Regions from separate parts of the Homo sapiens genome. Here region 2 is linked to region 1. The links are contacts of gene promoters, found by promoter capture Hi-C in human tissues and cell types (Jung and others, 2019). All regions are on one chromosome and are shown on one strand. The core of a region is centred on a gene start or on the middle of the fragment in contact, and the rest is flanking DNA. Distances in the headings are between cores, read along the strand shown. Region 1 holds the start of PLEKHJ1 (pleckstrin homology domain containing J1). Region 2 overlaps SGTA (small glutamine rich tetratricopeptide repeat co-chaperone alpha).

Region 1 (5,215 bases), core at 2,230-4,729:
GAAGCTGAGCCAAACAAATCTTTCATAAAGGAAAGTCAAAAGTTAAAAAAACAGGAGGAAAAGCAAGAACCTAGAGGACATTCCAGAGTGAGAACTGAAAAAACACCCAACAAAATAAAACAGGAAAAATATTATCACAGAAATAACATAAGAACATTAGCAAGAAAATTAAAAACAAAAACAAAACCCAGGACTAAAGGAACCAAACTGTCCAGATACCAAGCACCCACCAGGATCAGCAAATAAAAAGATCCCCGGTAAATGAGGAAATCAGGAAATTTTACGACACCAAGGAAGATGTTAAGCTTCTACTAGACAGAAAGACAACTGAGCAGAAAACATCAGAAACCAGCATAGGAACTGATCTTTTGAGAACAGCACTGAAAACAATGCTTTCACAGTTCTGAGCAAATACAGATTTTTTTCTCTCTCTTTTTTTTTTTTTTTTTTTGAGACGGATTCTCGCTCTGTCGCCCAGGCAGTAGCTCGATCTTGGCTCACTGCAACCTCCACCTCCCAGGTTCAAGCCATTCTCCTGCCTTAGCCTCCCGAGTAGCTGAGATTACAGGCACATGCCAAAACGCCTGGCAAATTTTTATATTTTTAGTGGAGATGGGATTTCGCCAGGTTGGCGAGGCTGGTCTCAAACTCCCAAACTCAGGTCATCCGCCCGCCTCAGCCTCCCAAAGTGCTGGGATTACAGGCGTGAGCCACCACGCCCGGCCTACAAATACAGATTTTCAATCTAGATTTTTATACCCCACCAAACTTCTAACTATGAGGGTAAATAAACTCGTTTTCAGACAATCAAGGACTTCCCCCACCCCCCGAAAAAAATCATCTGTTTCTTCAAAAGCTCCCAGAAGTTTTGCTCGGACAGCATGAAGGGAAAGAGATGACCACACTGGAAACAGAGGTCAGCACAGGGGAGCAAGGACAGGAAGGTTTGGGACAACAGCTCCACTTCCAGGTCAGAGCACAACCAGTCCCATTTGGAGGAGGAGGATAAGGGGGTCTTGGAGGGAAGTGGTGAGGGGAGATCAATTTATTTAAACCTATGCAAAATACAACTGATAGGTGTGTGAGAGGTGGGAGCTTTGTGGGGAAAAAACAAACAGCAGGTAAAAGAAAATCAGGCTCATGGTAAAAACAAAGTTAATTAGCTTTAAGGGAAGATAGAATGGTACAAGAAAAGCCTAGCTGAACATATTACTTGTTTTAGCAGCCAACAATATTTTGCATCTTATTTAGAAAACACAACCAATGACCAACTATGCTCATGACATAAACTCATTCAGGATATGGAAGGTGAAGGTGCAGTGGGTGGATGGGAGGGAGAAGATCTCAACAGCCGTGACAAGAAATCAGCAGATGATGTCTACAAATTGATAAATCCATGAAGAAATCTGTTACTTACTAAGGTAAAGATCAGGGGACAGCCTGGCCAACCTGGTAAAACCCCATCTCTACAAAAAATACAAAAATTAGCCGGGTGCAGTGGCTCATGCCTGTAATCCTACCACTTTGGGAGGCCGTGGCAGGTGGATCACCTGGTCAGGAGTTCGAGACCAGCCTGGGCAACATGGCGAAACCTCGTCTCTACAAAAAATACAAAAATTCGCCGGACATGGTGGTGAGCACCTGTGATCCCAGCTACTCGAGAGGTTGAGGCAGGAGGATGGCTTGAGCATGGGAGTTTGAGGCTGGAGTAAGCTGTGATTGCACCACTGCACTCACTCCAGCCTGGGTGACAGAGCAAGACCCTGTCTCAAAACAAACAAAAAACCGATGACGACCAGGGGAAATGAGCTTAAGAATTGAGGAAAAGTGGCCTCTGGGACCTGGGACTAGACCATTGAGAAGGAATTAGTTTTTCGTGGCAACACCGTTCTCTCCTTAACCTAGCCAACAACCTATTTTCCAGAGCTCCGCCTGGCTGTTTGGTGTCGTCCAAGGATACACAAGAACAACGGTCACAGCGGGGTGCACCTGCAAAATGGGGCCAGCTAACGTGTTCTGGTCGCCTTTGGCATGATGTTGAAGCCGTCACTCCCATTTTAAGGGAACTGAGGCTCACAGGAATTACATCACAGAGCCCCAGTCAACTAACAGGTATAGATGAGCATACAGAAGCGTTCTCGGCTACAAGGAAGGCGGCCGAAACCATTTCAGCCGCGATCCCGATTCGACCCCAACGAATCTTGGTTGTTTCTTTTTTATTTTGTCAAACAGGGTCTTGCTCTGTTGTCCAGGCTGGAGTGCAACGGCACAATCACAACTCACTGCAGCCTCGACCTCCTGGACTCAAGCGATCTTCCCGCTTCAGCCTCCAGAGTAGCTGGGACTACAGGCGCGCGTCACCAACCACGCCCGGCTAATTTTTTTTTTTTTTTTTTTTGCAGTGATGGGGTCTCGCTATGTTGCCCAGGCTGGAGTGCAGTGGTGGGATCATGGCTCACTGCAGCCTCGACATTCCGAGCTCAAGCGATCCTCTCGAGTAGCTGGGCCTACAGGTACAACCACCACTCCTGGCTAATTTTTTAAAATTTTTTGTAGAGATGGGGGTCTCGGTGTGTTGTCCAGGCTGGTCTCGAACTCCTGGCCTCAAGCGATCCTCCCGCCAAGGCCTCCCTGAGCAGTGAGATTACAGGCGTGAGGCCCCGCGCGCGGCCTCCCAACAGGAGTTTGGAAATAGAGTTCCTGGCGGGCCCGACCCTCCAGGCCCGCCCAGCGCGGGGCCTCAGGATGCACAAGGCCGGACGCTCACGGGAGGAGGGAGGGGAGCGACGCCGCCGCCCCACCCTCGGCCCGCGGCCTGTCGCAAGCGCCTCTCTCCTACGTCCGCTGTCCCCCAGGGAACCCCCGGTCCGCGTCGGCCGCCGCCCTCAACCGCCTCTACTCCTCACCAGAGCCCAAGGCCGCGTTATCTCCTCCTCGTTTCGCCACCTCCACGACTTCGTTTGGCGAACGGCGGGCAAAGAAAGCACTTCCGGGGCAAATGAGACGGGCCCTCTGGTGTGCGCATGCCTGGCCCGCCCAGCGGCGTGAGTCAGAGGGTCCCGAGGCGCGAAGGAAAAGGCTGGAGGGGGAGAGGCTGAAAGCGCGGCCTGGAAGGCAAACTGCGCGTGCGCACAACGCTCTCAACGAACCCTCGGTCCGCTGCGGCCGCACGGGGCCAACTTTCGCGAGGGAGCGGCTGACACTCTCCGGGCGACGTTATCGCTCCCTCCGCCTGCGCCTGGCCGCTCTAGAAAGGGGTGCCAGCCATCGCTGGGGTGCCTTGATTCTGTTCCACCTTGGTCCGGTTTATTTCAGTTTAATGGTTATGTAACAACGGTCCGTCTCTCCTACCAACCGGTACCCCGCCCACGCCAGCAGCCACGGGTCGCCAGCGCCACGCAGCGGAGGCGGGCGGCATGGCTGGCCCAAGGTGCGCAGGCGCACTAGCCCTGGGGGTGCTTCCGTGTCTGCGCCCTGAGACATTTTTGGCGCCGGCCCCAGCCTGAGCGGGGACGGCGGCCGGGAGGGCGCGGCCCGGGTTCCCGTTCCCCGCGGAGCCATGCGGTACAACGAGAAGGAGCTGCAGGCTCTGTCCCGGCAGCCGGCCGAGATGGCGGCCGAGCTGGGCATGAGGGGCCCCAAGAAGGGCAGCGGTGAGCGGGACCCGGGAGACCGAGACAGTGCCAGGGGCGGGAGGCCGGGGCCGGGGTCTGGGCGGGGGTGCCGGAGGCCGGAGTCCGGGTCGGGGCGCCGGGGACGGGAGGCCGGGGTCCGGGCGGGGGCTGCCTGCGCCCCTGAGTGCGCGCTGTGCCCGCAGTGCTGAAGCGGCGGCTGGTGAAGCTGGTGGTGAATTTCCTCTTCTACTTTCGGACAGACGAGGCCGAGGTAGGGGCGTCCCGGGCGCGCGGGCGGGTCCCAGGCTGGGCCCCTCGGAGGCCGGGTGCTCACTGCCCCGTCCCGGCGCCCGTGTCTCCTCCAGCCCGTCGGAGCCCTGCTGCTGGAGCGCTGCAGAGTCGTCCGGGAAGAGCCCGGCACCTTCTCCATCAGTGAGTGGGGCTAGGGAAGCCAGCGGCGCTTCCCGCAGCCCGGGGCACCCGCAGCGCCGCACTTTCCCCTCCCCGGGCGCCCAAGGTCTCCTCTGTGTCCCCAGCCTGGCGCCACCCTCCTCAAACACAAGAGTGCATTGTCCACGGGCAGCTCAAGGTCAAGTTCTCCTGGCGGGCACCACCCTTCCCACCTGCCGAGTCCACTTAAGCTTGGGTCCCTCCCAGACTCTGCTCTTTGTTCCCTGTGGGCCCAGGCTGTACTTACAGGGCAGGTGGGCCAGCCCCACCCAAAGCGTTTCCCCAGCTGCCAAGAGTAGCATGGGTCTAGCATTGTTATATGGCCCCGGGCTGGAAATCCCAGGTGGGGGTAGGAGGAGTGAGAGGGGGGTGTTCTCCTGGGTCTTAAGAGATTCCCTTCTGCGGGGAAAGATGGAGTCCCTGCTAGTTTGCCCAGAGTGGCTGTCAAAATTCCACAGGCCAGGTGGCTTAAATATCAGAAACATTCTCTACAGTTCTGGAGGCCAGAAATCCTAGATGAAGGTGTGGGTGGGGCCGAATCCTTCTGAGGCCGAGGGGAATCTCCCAGTTCCTAGTGGTGGCCAGTATCCTCCAGGTTCCTTGGCTTGTGGAAGCGTCACCTTGTCCTCCTTGCATCACGTCTGTGCCCACATTTCCCCTTCTACACAGACGCCAAGCAGAATTTAGGGCCCACCCTGACAACCCCTTTTTACTTCACTTTATTATTTTATTTGCTTATTTTTTGAGACAGGGTCTTGGTATGTCGCCCAGGCTGGAGTGCAGTGGTGCAATCTCGGCTCCCTGTAACTTCCCCCTCTCGGGTTCAAGTGATTCTCCTGCCTCAGCCTCCCGAGTAGCTGGTACTACAGGCACGCGCCACCATGCCCAGCTAATTTTTGTATTTTTAGTAGAGACGGGGTTTCGCCATATTGGCCAGGCTGCTCTCGAACTCCTGACCTCAGGTGATCCTCCCACCTCGGCCTCCCAAAGTGCTGGGATTACGGTCTTGAGCCACCGTACCCGGCCCTCTTTATTTTTGAGACAGGATCTTTTGTTTCCGAGGCTGGAGTGCAGTGGCGTGATCACAGCTCACTGCAGCCTCAACCCCCTTGGCTCAAGCAGTCCTCCCACTTCTGACTCCGGAGTGGCTG
Region 2 (5,215 bases), core at 2,009-4,508, 520 kb before region 1:
ACCATGGGATGGAGGGTGACTGGGCCCCAGTCTTTCAAGGGGCCTCTCAGCTTGGCCATGTCACAGACGCCTTTTCCCTTCAGACATCTGGGGTTGGCAGAATAAGGCCCGCCGCTGGGTTTTGTTAATAAAGTTTTTTTTGGTTTTTTTTTTTTTTTTTTTTTTTGAGATGGAGTCTCGCTCTGTCGCCCAGGTTGGAGTGCAGTGGTGTGATCTCAGCTCACTGCAACCTCCGCCTCCCAGGTTCAAGCGATTCTCCTGCGTCAGCCTCCCGAGTAGCTGGGATTACAGGTGCCCACCACCATGCCTGGCTAATTTTGGTATTTTTTAATAGAAATGGGGTTTCACCATGTTTGCCAGGCTGGTCTCGAACTCCTGACCTTGTGATCCACCCGCCTCGGCCCCCCAAAGTGCTGGGATTACAGGTGTGAGCCACTACACCTGACCAATAAAGTTTTATTGGCACACAGCCATGCCCATTCATACACCTAGTGTCACTGGTGGCTTTCATGATACGGCGGCAGAGCTGAGTAGTTGCGTCAGGCACCCGTGTCTGAAAAGGCTGAGAGTATTTACACACTGGCCCTTTACACAGAGAGTTTGCCACACCTCTGAGCCACCTCCTTTCAACAGGTCCAAAGGAATAATCCCAAGTGGAAAGTTAACATGAGAAAGTGCCCAGTATAGTGCTATTTATTTATTTATTTATTTTTACTTCTTTTTTGAGACAGAGTCTCACTCTGTCACCCAGGCTGGAGTGCAGCGGTGTGATCTCGGCTCACTGCAACCTCCCCCTCCCAGGTTCAGGCGATTCTTGTGCCTCAGTTTCCCAAGTAGCTGGGACTACAGGCATGCACCACCACACCTGGCTAATTTCATATTTTTAGTAGAGACGGGGTTTCACCATGTTGGTTAGGCTGGTCTCGAACTCCTGACCTCAAGCGATCTGCCTGCCTCGGCCTCCTAAAGTGCTGGGATTCCAGGCGTGAACCACCGCGCCCAGCCACAGTGCTATTTATTGATAGAGCAAAACTGGAACCAAATATGCTAAATGAAATATGCTAAAGCAGACAGCAGCTAAAATAAAGAACCAAAACGCCTCCACACAGCAAAACCGCAGCAGCCAGTGAGAGAGCGCTGTGGCGCTGCGAGATCGCTCCTGAAGCAGGAACCCAAAACAGGATTTAAGTCACAATGTGGAGGTCACAGCTCGTGGGTGGGGGGGCGAAAATGTAGGGAAAAGGGTATGAAAGACCGAATGCCCGGCTCTTACTGTTGGTTGGCGTGCTGGAGTCCAGAACCAAGGCTGGTTAAGATGGAAAGTGTCTGATGAAAGAGAATGATGCGCTGGGAGCTTTGTCTTCCTGACAAATTTGTTCTGTTCTTCAGGCTTCGAACCTAATGAACAATCCCCAGATTCAGCAGCTGTAAGTGACAACCGGGTTTCTTCGGGTCTTGTTGTGGTTAAATTTCCTTTTATTGTGGGTAAATTCACTTAACATAAAACTAACCACTTTAAAGTGTGCAACTTAATGGCATTAAGGACTTTCACACTGTCATGCAACTGTCACCACTATCACACTGTCATGCAACTGTCACCACCATCACACTGTCATGCAACTGTCACCACCATTGAGCACCAACCCATCTTCATCACCTCCGAAAGAAGCCCCTTCCCCCTCAGCTGTCACTCCCCAACCCCTCTCCTATCCCCTGACAACCACGCATCCCCTTCCTGTCTCTGTGGATGGGCCTGTCCTGGACATTTCGTAGAAATGGGATCACACACTGCGTGAACTTTGGTGTCTGGCGTCTCTCACTGAGCGTGACGTCCTCAAGGTGCATGTGTGCTGGGGCCTGGGTCAGGGCCTCGCTCCTTTTCATGGCTGAGTAATATTCCAGTGTGGAGGGACCACGCTGTGCTGATCCACACATCTATCCATGGACATTTGGGCTGTTTCTACCTTTTGTCTGTTGTGAACGGTGCTGCTTGAGCACGGGTGTGCAATCGTCTGTGTGAATCCTGTTTTCGTTTCTCTTGGATATAAACTTCTGAGTGCACTCGCTGGCTCATAGGGTCACTCCCCAGTAAGCGCTGTGCGCACTGGGGAGCTGCTCACCTGTTTTCATGGTGAAATCTTTTTTTCTTTCTCCTTTTTTTTTTTTTGAGACAGAATCTTGCTCTGTCACCCAGGCTGGAGTGCAGTGGCAGAATCTTGGCTCACTGCAACCTCTGCCTCCCGGGATCAAGTGGGTCTTCCCAAGTAGCTGGAATTACAGGCATCCACCACCATGCCCGGCTGATTTTTGCATTTTTAGTAGAGATGGGGTTTCACCATGTTGGCCAGGCTGGTCTTGAACTCCTGACCTCAGGTGATCCACCCGCCTCAGCCTCCCAAAGTGCAGGGATGACAGGTGTGAGCCACCGCGGCTGGCCCACGGTCAAATCTTAAAGCATGGTTTCCCAGCCACAGCACCGTGGCCATTTGAGCTGGACCAGTTTCTGGAGCAGGGCCGTCCTGGGCACTGCAGGGTGCTGAGCACTGTCTCTAGCCTCCATCCACTCCATGCCAGGAGCACCCCCTGCCCCTGTCTTGGCGTAACCCAATCATGGCTGTTGCAAATGTCCGCTGCCATTGCAGGGGTCCTCTGGGGGCAGGATCACCCCCTGGCTGAGAACTACGCTCTTTAGGCCAAAGAAAGAGGGGTGTTCTGGGAAAGCAGGTGAAAGTCACAGGGTGGGTTTGGGCCCTGGAGGCCCACCAGGTGGTGAGAGAGAATCCTCTCCTGCAGGGGAAGGTGAAGGGCTGAGAGGGATTCTCTCCCGGGCCACTGCGAGGGCCTGCAGTGGGGGTGGCGGTCAGGCTGTCCCGGCTGCGAGTCACGCGCTCTCTCCTGCAGCATGTCCGGCATGATTTCGGGTGGCAACAACCCCTTGGGAACTCCCGGCACCAGCCCCTCGCAGAACGACCTGGCCAGCCTCATCCAGGCGTGAGTGGAACTGCTTCCAAGAGGACGGAGGACGTGGGCGGCGGGCAGGGCTCGCAGGCGGAAGGGAAGGAGGAGAGCGAAAGTGCTGCGTCCCCTGCTCCGAAGGGCCCAGCGTCCTCCAGCGAGGGGTCAGGCCTGTCTTTGGGGTGGAGGGCCCGAGGGGTCAGCTGGGGATGGACGGAGGCAGCAGGCAGCCTCCTGGCCCTGGCTGAGCCCCATGTGCCCTTCCCCGCAGGGGCCAGCAGTTTGCCCAGCAGATGCAGCAGCAGAACCCAGAGTTGATAGAGCAGCTCAGGAGCCAGATCCGGAGTCGGACGCCCAGCGCCAGCAACGACGACCAGCAGGAGTGACGCTGCGTGAGTGCATGGGGCCGGGGGCTGGGGGGTGGCCAGCAGGAGTGACACCACGTGAGTGCCTGGCAGTGAGGGCAGCCAGCAGGAGTGACGCCCGGGGGCTGTGGAGCCTGTCTGGACACTGGACAGCGAGTCCTGGGTGCATCCAGCTCAGAAGATCACCCTGAACCGCCCAGGCAGGTGGGGGCATCTCTGGGCATTGGGCCCCTTTCCAGGTGGCCACCAAGTCCTGCTCCCCACTCCTTTCCCATCTGTGGATCGGCGCTGGGTGGAGATTAGGGGAGAGCCACAGCTCCCTGGAAGGGCTGGTGTCTGGGGTCCCCCCTGCCTAAGGCCGCCTGCAGAAGCTCTTTGTTTCTGCAGTGTCGGGGCTGCCACCTCGGGGGTGGGGGCGAGGTCATCGAGTGGTGGAAAGGACAAGCCGGGTACCTGCCTTTGACTGCGCCCGAGCGTTCTGCCTGCATTTTGTGAGGGATTTTTTGTCCTTTTCTCACTGTGAGCAGGTGTTGCACTTACAGTTGTTTAAAAATACACTCAGTGTCCCCCATGGGTTCCAGGGGCCCGTGGCTGGCTTGGTTTCCTTCCCCAGGGGCCCCTGAGTTCAGTCCTGTCCGTCTCCAGCAGACACCGGCTTCCCAGGGGTGGGAGGCTCCCCTGAGTTCAGTCCTGTCTGTCTCCAGCAGACGCCGGCTCCCTGGGGGCGGGAGGCTCCGGGCCTCCCCAGAGGTGTTTCCATTCTGCTCCCATGTGGCCTCTTCATTTTGTCGTTGTCCCCTCCTCATATACACTCTCTTTCATTTTTAAACCATAATTACTGTAGACAAATTTAAAATACAAAAATGTTAAAAAGCAGCAAGAACAATCTTAATCTTTTTTTTTTTTTTTTGAGACCGTCCTGCTCTGTCCCCCCGGCTGGAGGGCAGTGGTGCAGTCACGTCTCACTGCAGCCTCAACCTCCTGGGCTCAAGCGATCCTCCCGCCTCGGCCTCCCAAAGTGTGAGCCGTGCATTCAGCCCAACCTTAATCTTCTCACCCAGAGCCACCAACATTAATATTTTGGCCGCCTTTTCTTCCAGTCTTCCCTTTTTTTTTTAAATAAGCTTTTATTTATTTTTCCTTTTCTTTTTTTAATAGTTGAGGTGGATTTTTTACCACCGTAACCTCATACACAAAGTACCACCATACTGTAGACCCTTCTAGGTCATGGCGATGTTCTCTGCGCCACCAGCCACACGTGGCCCCGAGTGTGTGGAACGCTTCTGGTGCAGCTGTGGCTCTGACGTTCGTTGAAATAGCCGCTGTGGCCCCTGGCTGTCCACTCTGGGCCTCTCCTGCTGCCTGGAGTGTGTGGTGCAGCCTTGGTCCCCACCTGCGCTCTGACAGCCTTCATGTCTGTCCCCTTCCAGCTGCTCCCGGTGTGACCGCGTCCTTCCCTGGCCGACCCGAAGGAAGCCTTCTGGTTGTCTGCCACTTCCTCCTGTTGGACTGCCTGAGAGAGGGGAAGAGAGAGACCTCGGACCTGCATGTCAAGATGGATTTTCCCCTTTTATCTCTGCCCTCCTCCACTCCCTTTTTGTAACTCCCTTACAGCCCCCAGACCCTTCTTGAAACGAGAGCCAGCAAGCTGAGCACAGACCAGCAGCGACCTCCCTTCCAGCCCCCAGAAAGCTCGGTCACTTGAGTGTTTTCTAGAATCCTGGGGTGCTCCCGGGCCGCTCTCAGAGAAGTGGCAGGTTTCACGTTCAGCCGTGTGGCGGATCGTGTGGCTTCCAAAGCCTTTTACAGCCCCCGCCCCCCATCCCGTGGTCTGTCTGCAGGAACTCTCCCGTCTGTGAGAAGCCTCTTTCCGAGTCGACCTCCCGGCCACCCCG

What was found. Contacts are between HindIII fragments. The study calls those that stand out against the background at their distance.
Region 2: a contact is called between a fragment that was not itself captured here and the fragment with the promoter of PLEKHJ1 in region 1, in 2 of the 25 tissues and cell types used here (lymphoblastoid cells and mesenchymal stem cells).

What each region holds. Positions count from the first base shown.
Region 1 is chr19:2,234,593-2,239,807 of GRCh38, reverse strand. PLEKHJ1 (pleckstrin homology domain containing J1) reads left to right here and starts at 3,479. Exons shown (of 6, transcript NM_018049.3): 1 at 3,479-3,653; 2 at 3,818-3,885; 3 at 3,980-4,046. The coding sequence starts at 3,560. SF3A2 (splicing factor 3a subunit 2) reads right to left here and starts at 2,984. Exons shown (of 9, transcript NM_007165.5): 1 at 2,907-2,984. MIR6789 (microRNA 6789) reads left to right here and starts at 3,882; the gene lies at 3,882-3,979. RefSeq lists enhancers at 1-76, 3,219-3,268, 2,847-3,455, 4,064-4,672, 4,675-5,215 and silencers at 2,699-2,798, 3,409-4,038. The HindIII fragment of the contact is 10,839 bases long and covers 1-5,215 here.
Region 2 is chr19:2,755,469-2,760,683 of GRCh38, reverse strand. It overlaps SGTA (small glutamine rich tetratricopeptide repeat co-chaperone alpha), which reads left to right. Exons shown (of 12, transcript NM_003021.4): 9 at 1,390-1,427; 10 at 2,902-2,991; 11 at 3,227-3,347; 12 at 4,751-5,215. The coding sequence ends at 3,341. Among named protein-coding and RNA genes, the nearest start is that of SLC39A3, 18 kb to the right of the region's middle. The HindIII fragment of the contact is 7,304 bases long and covers 1-5,215 here.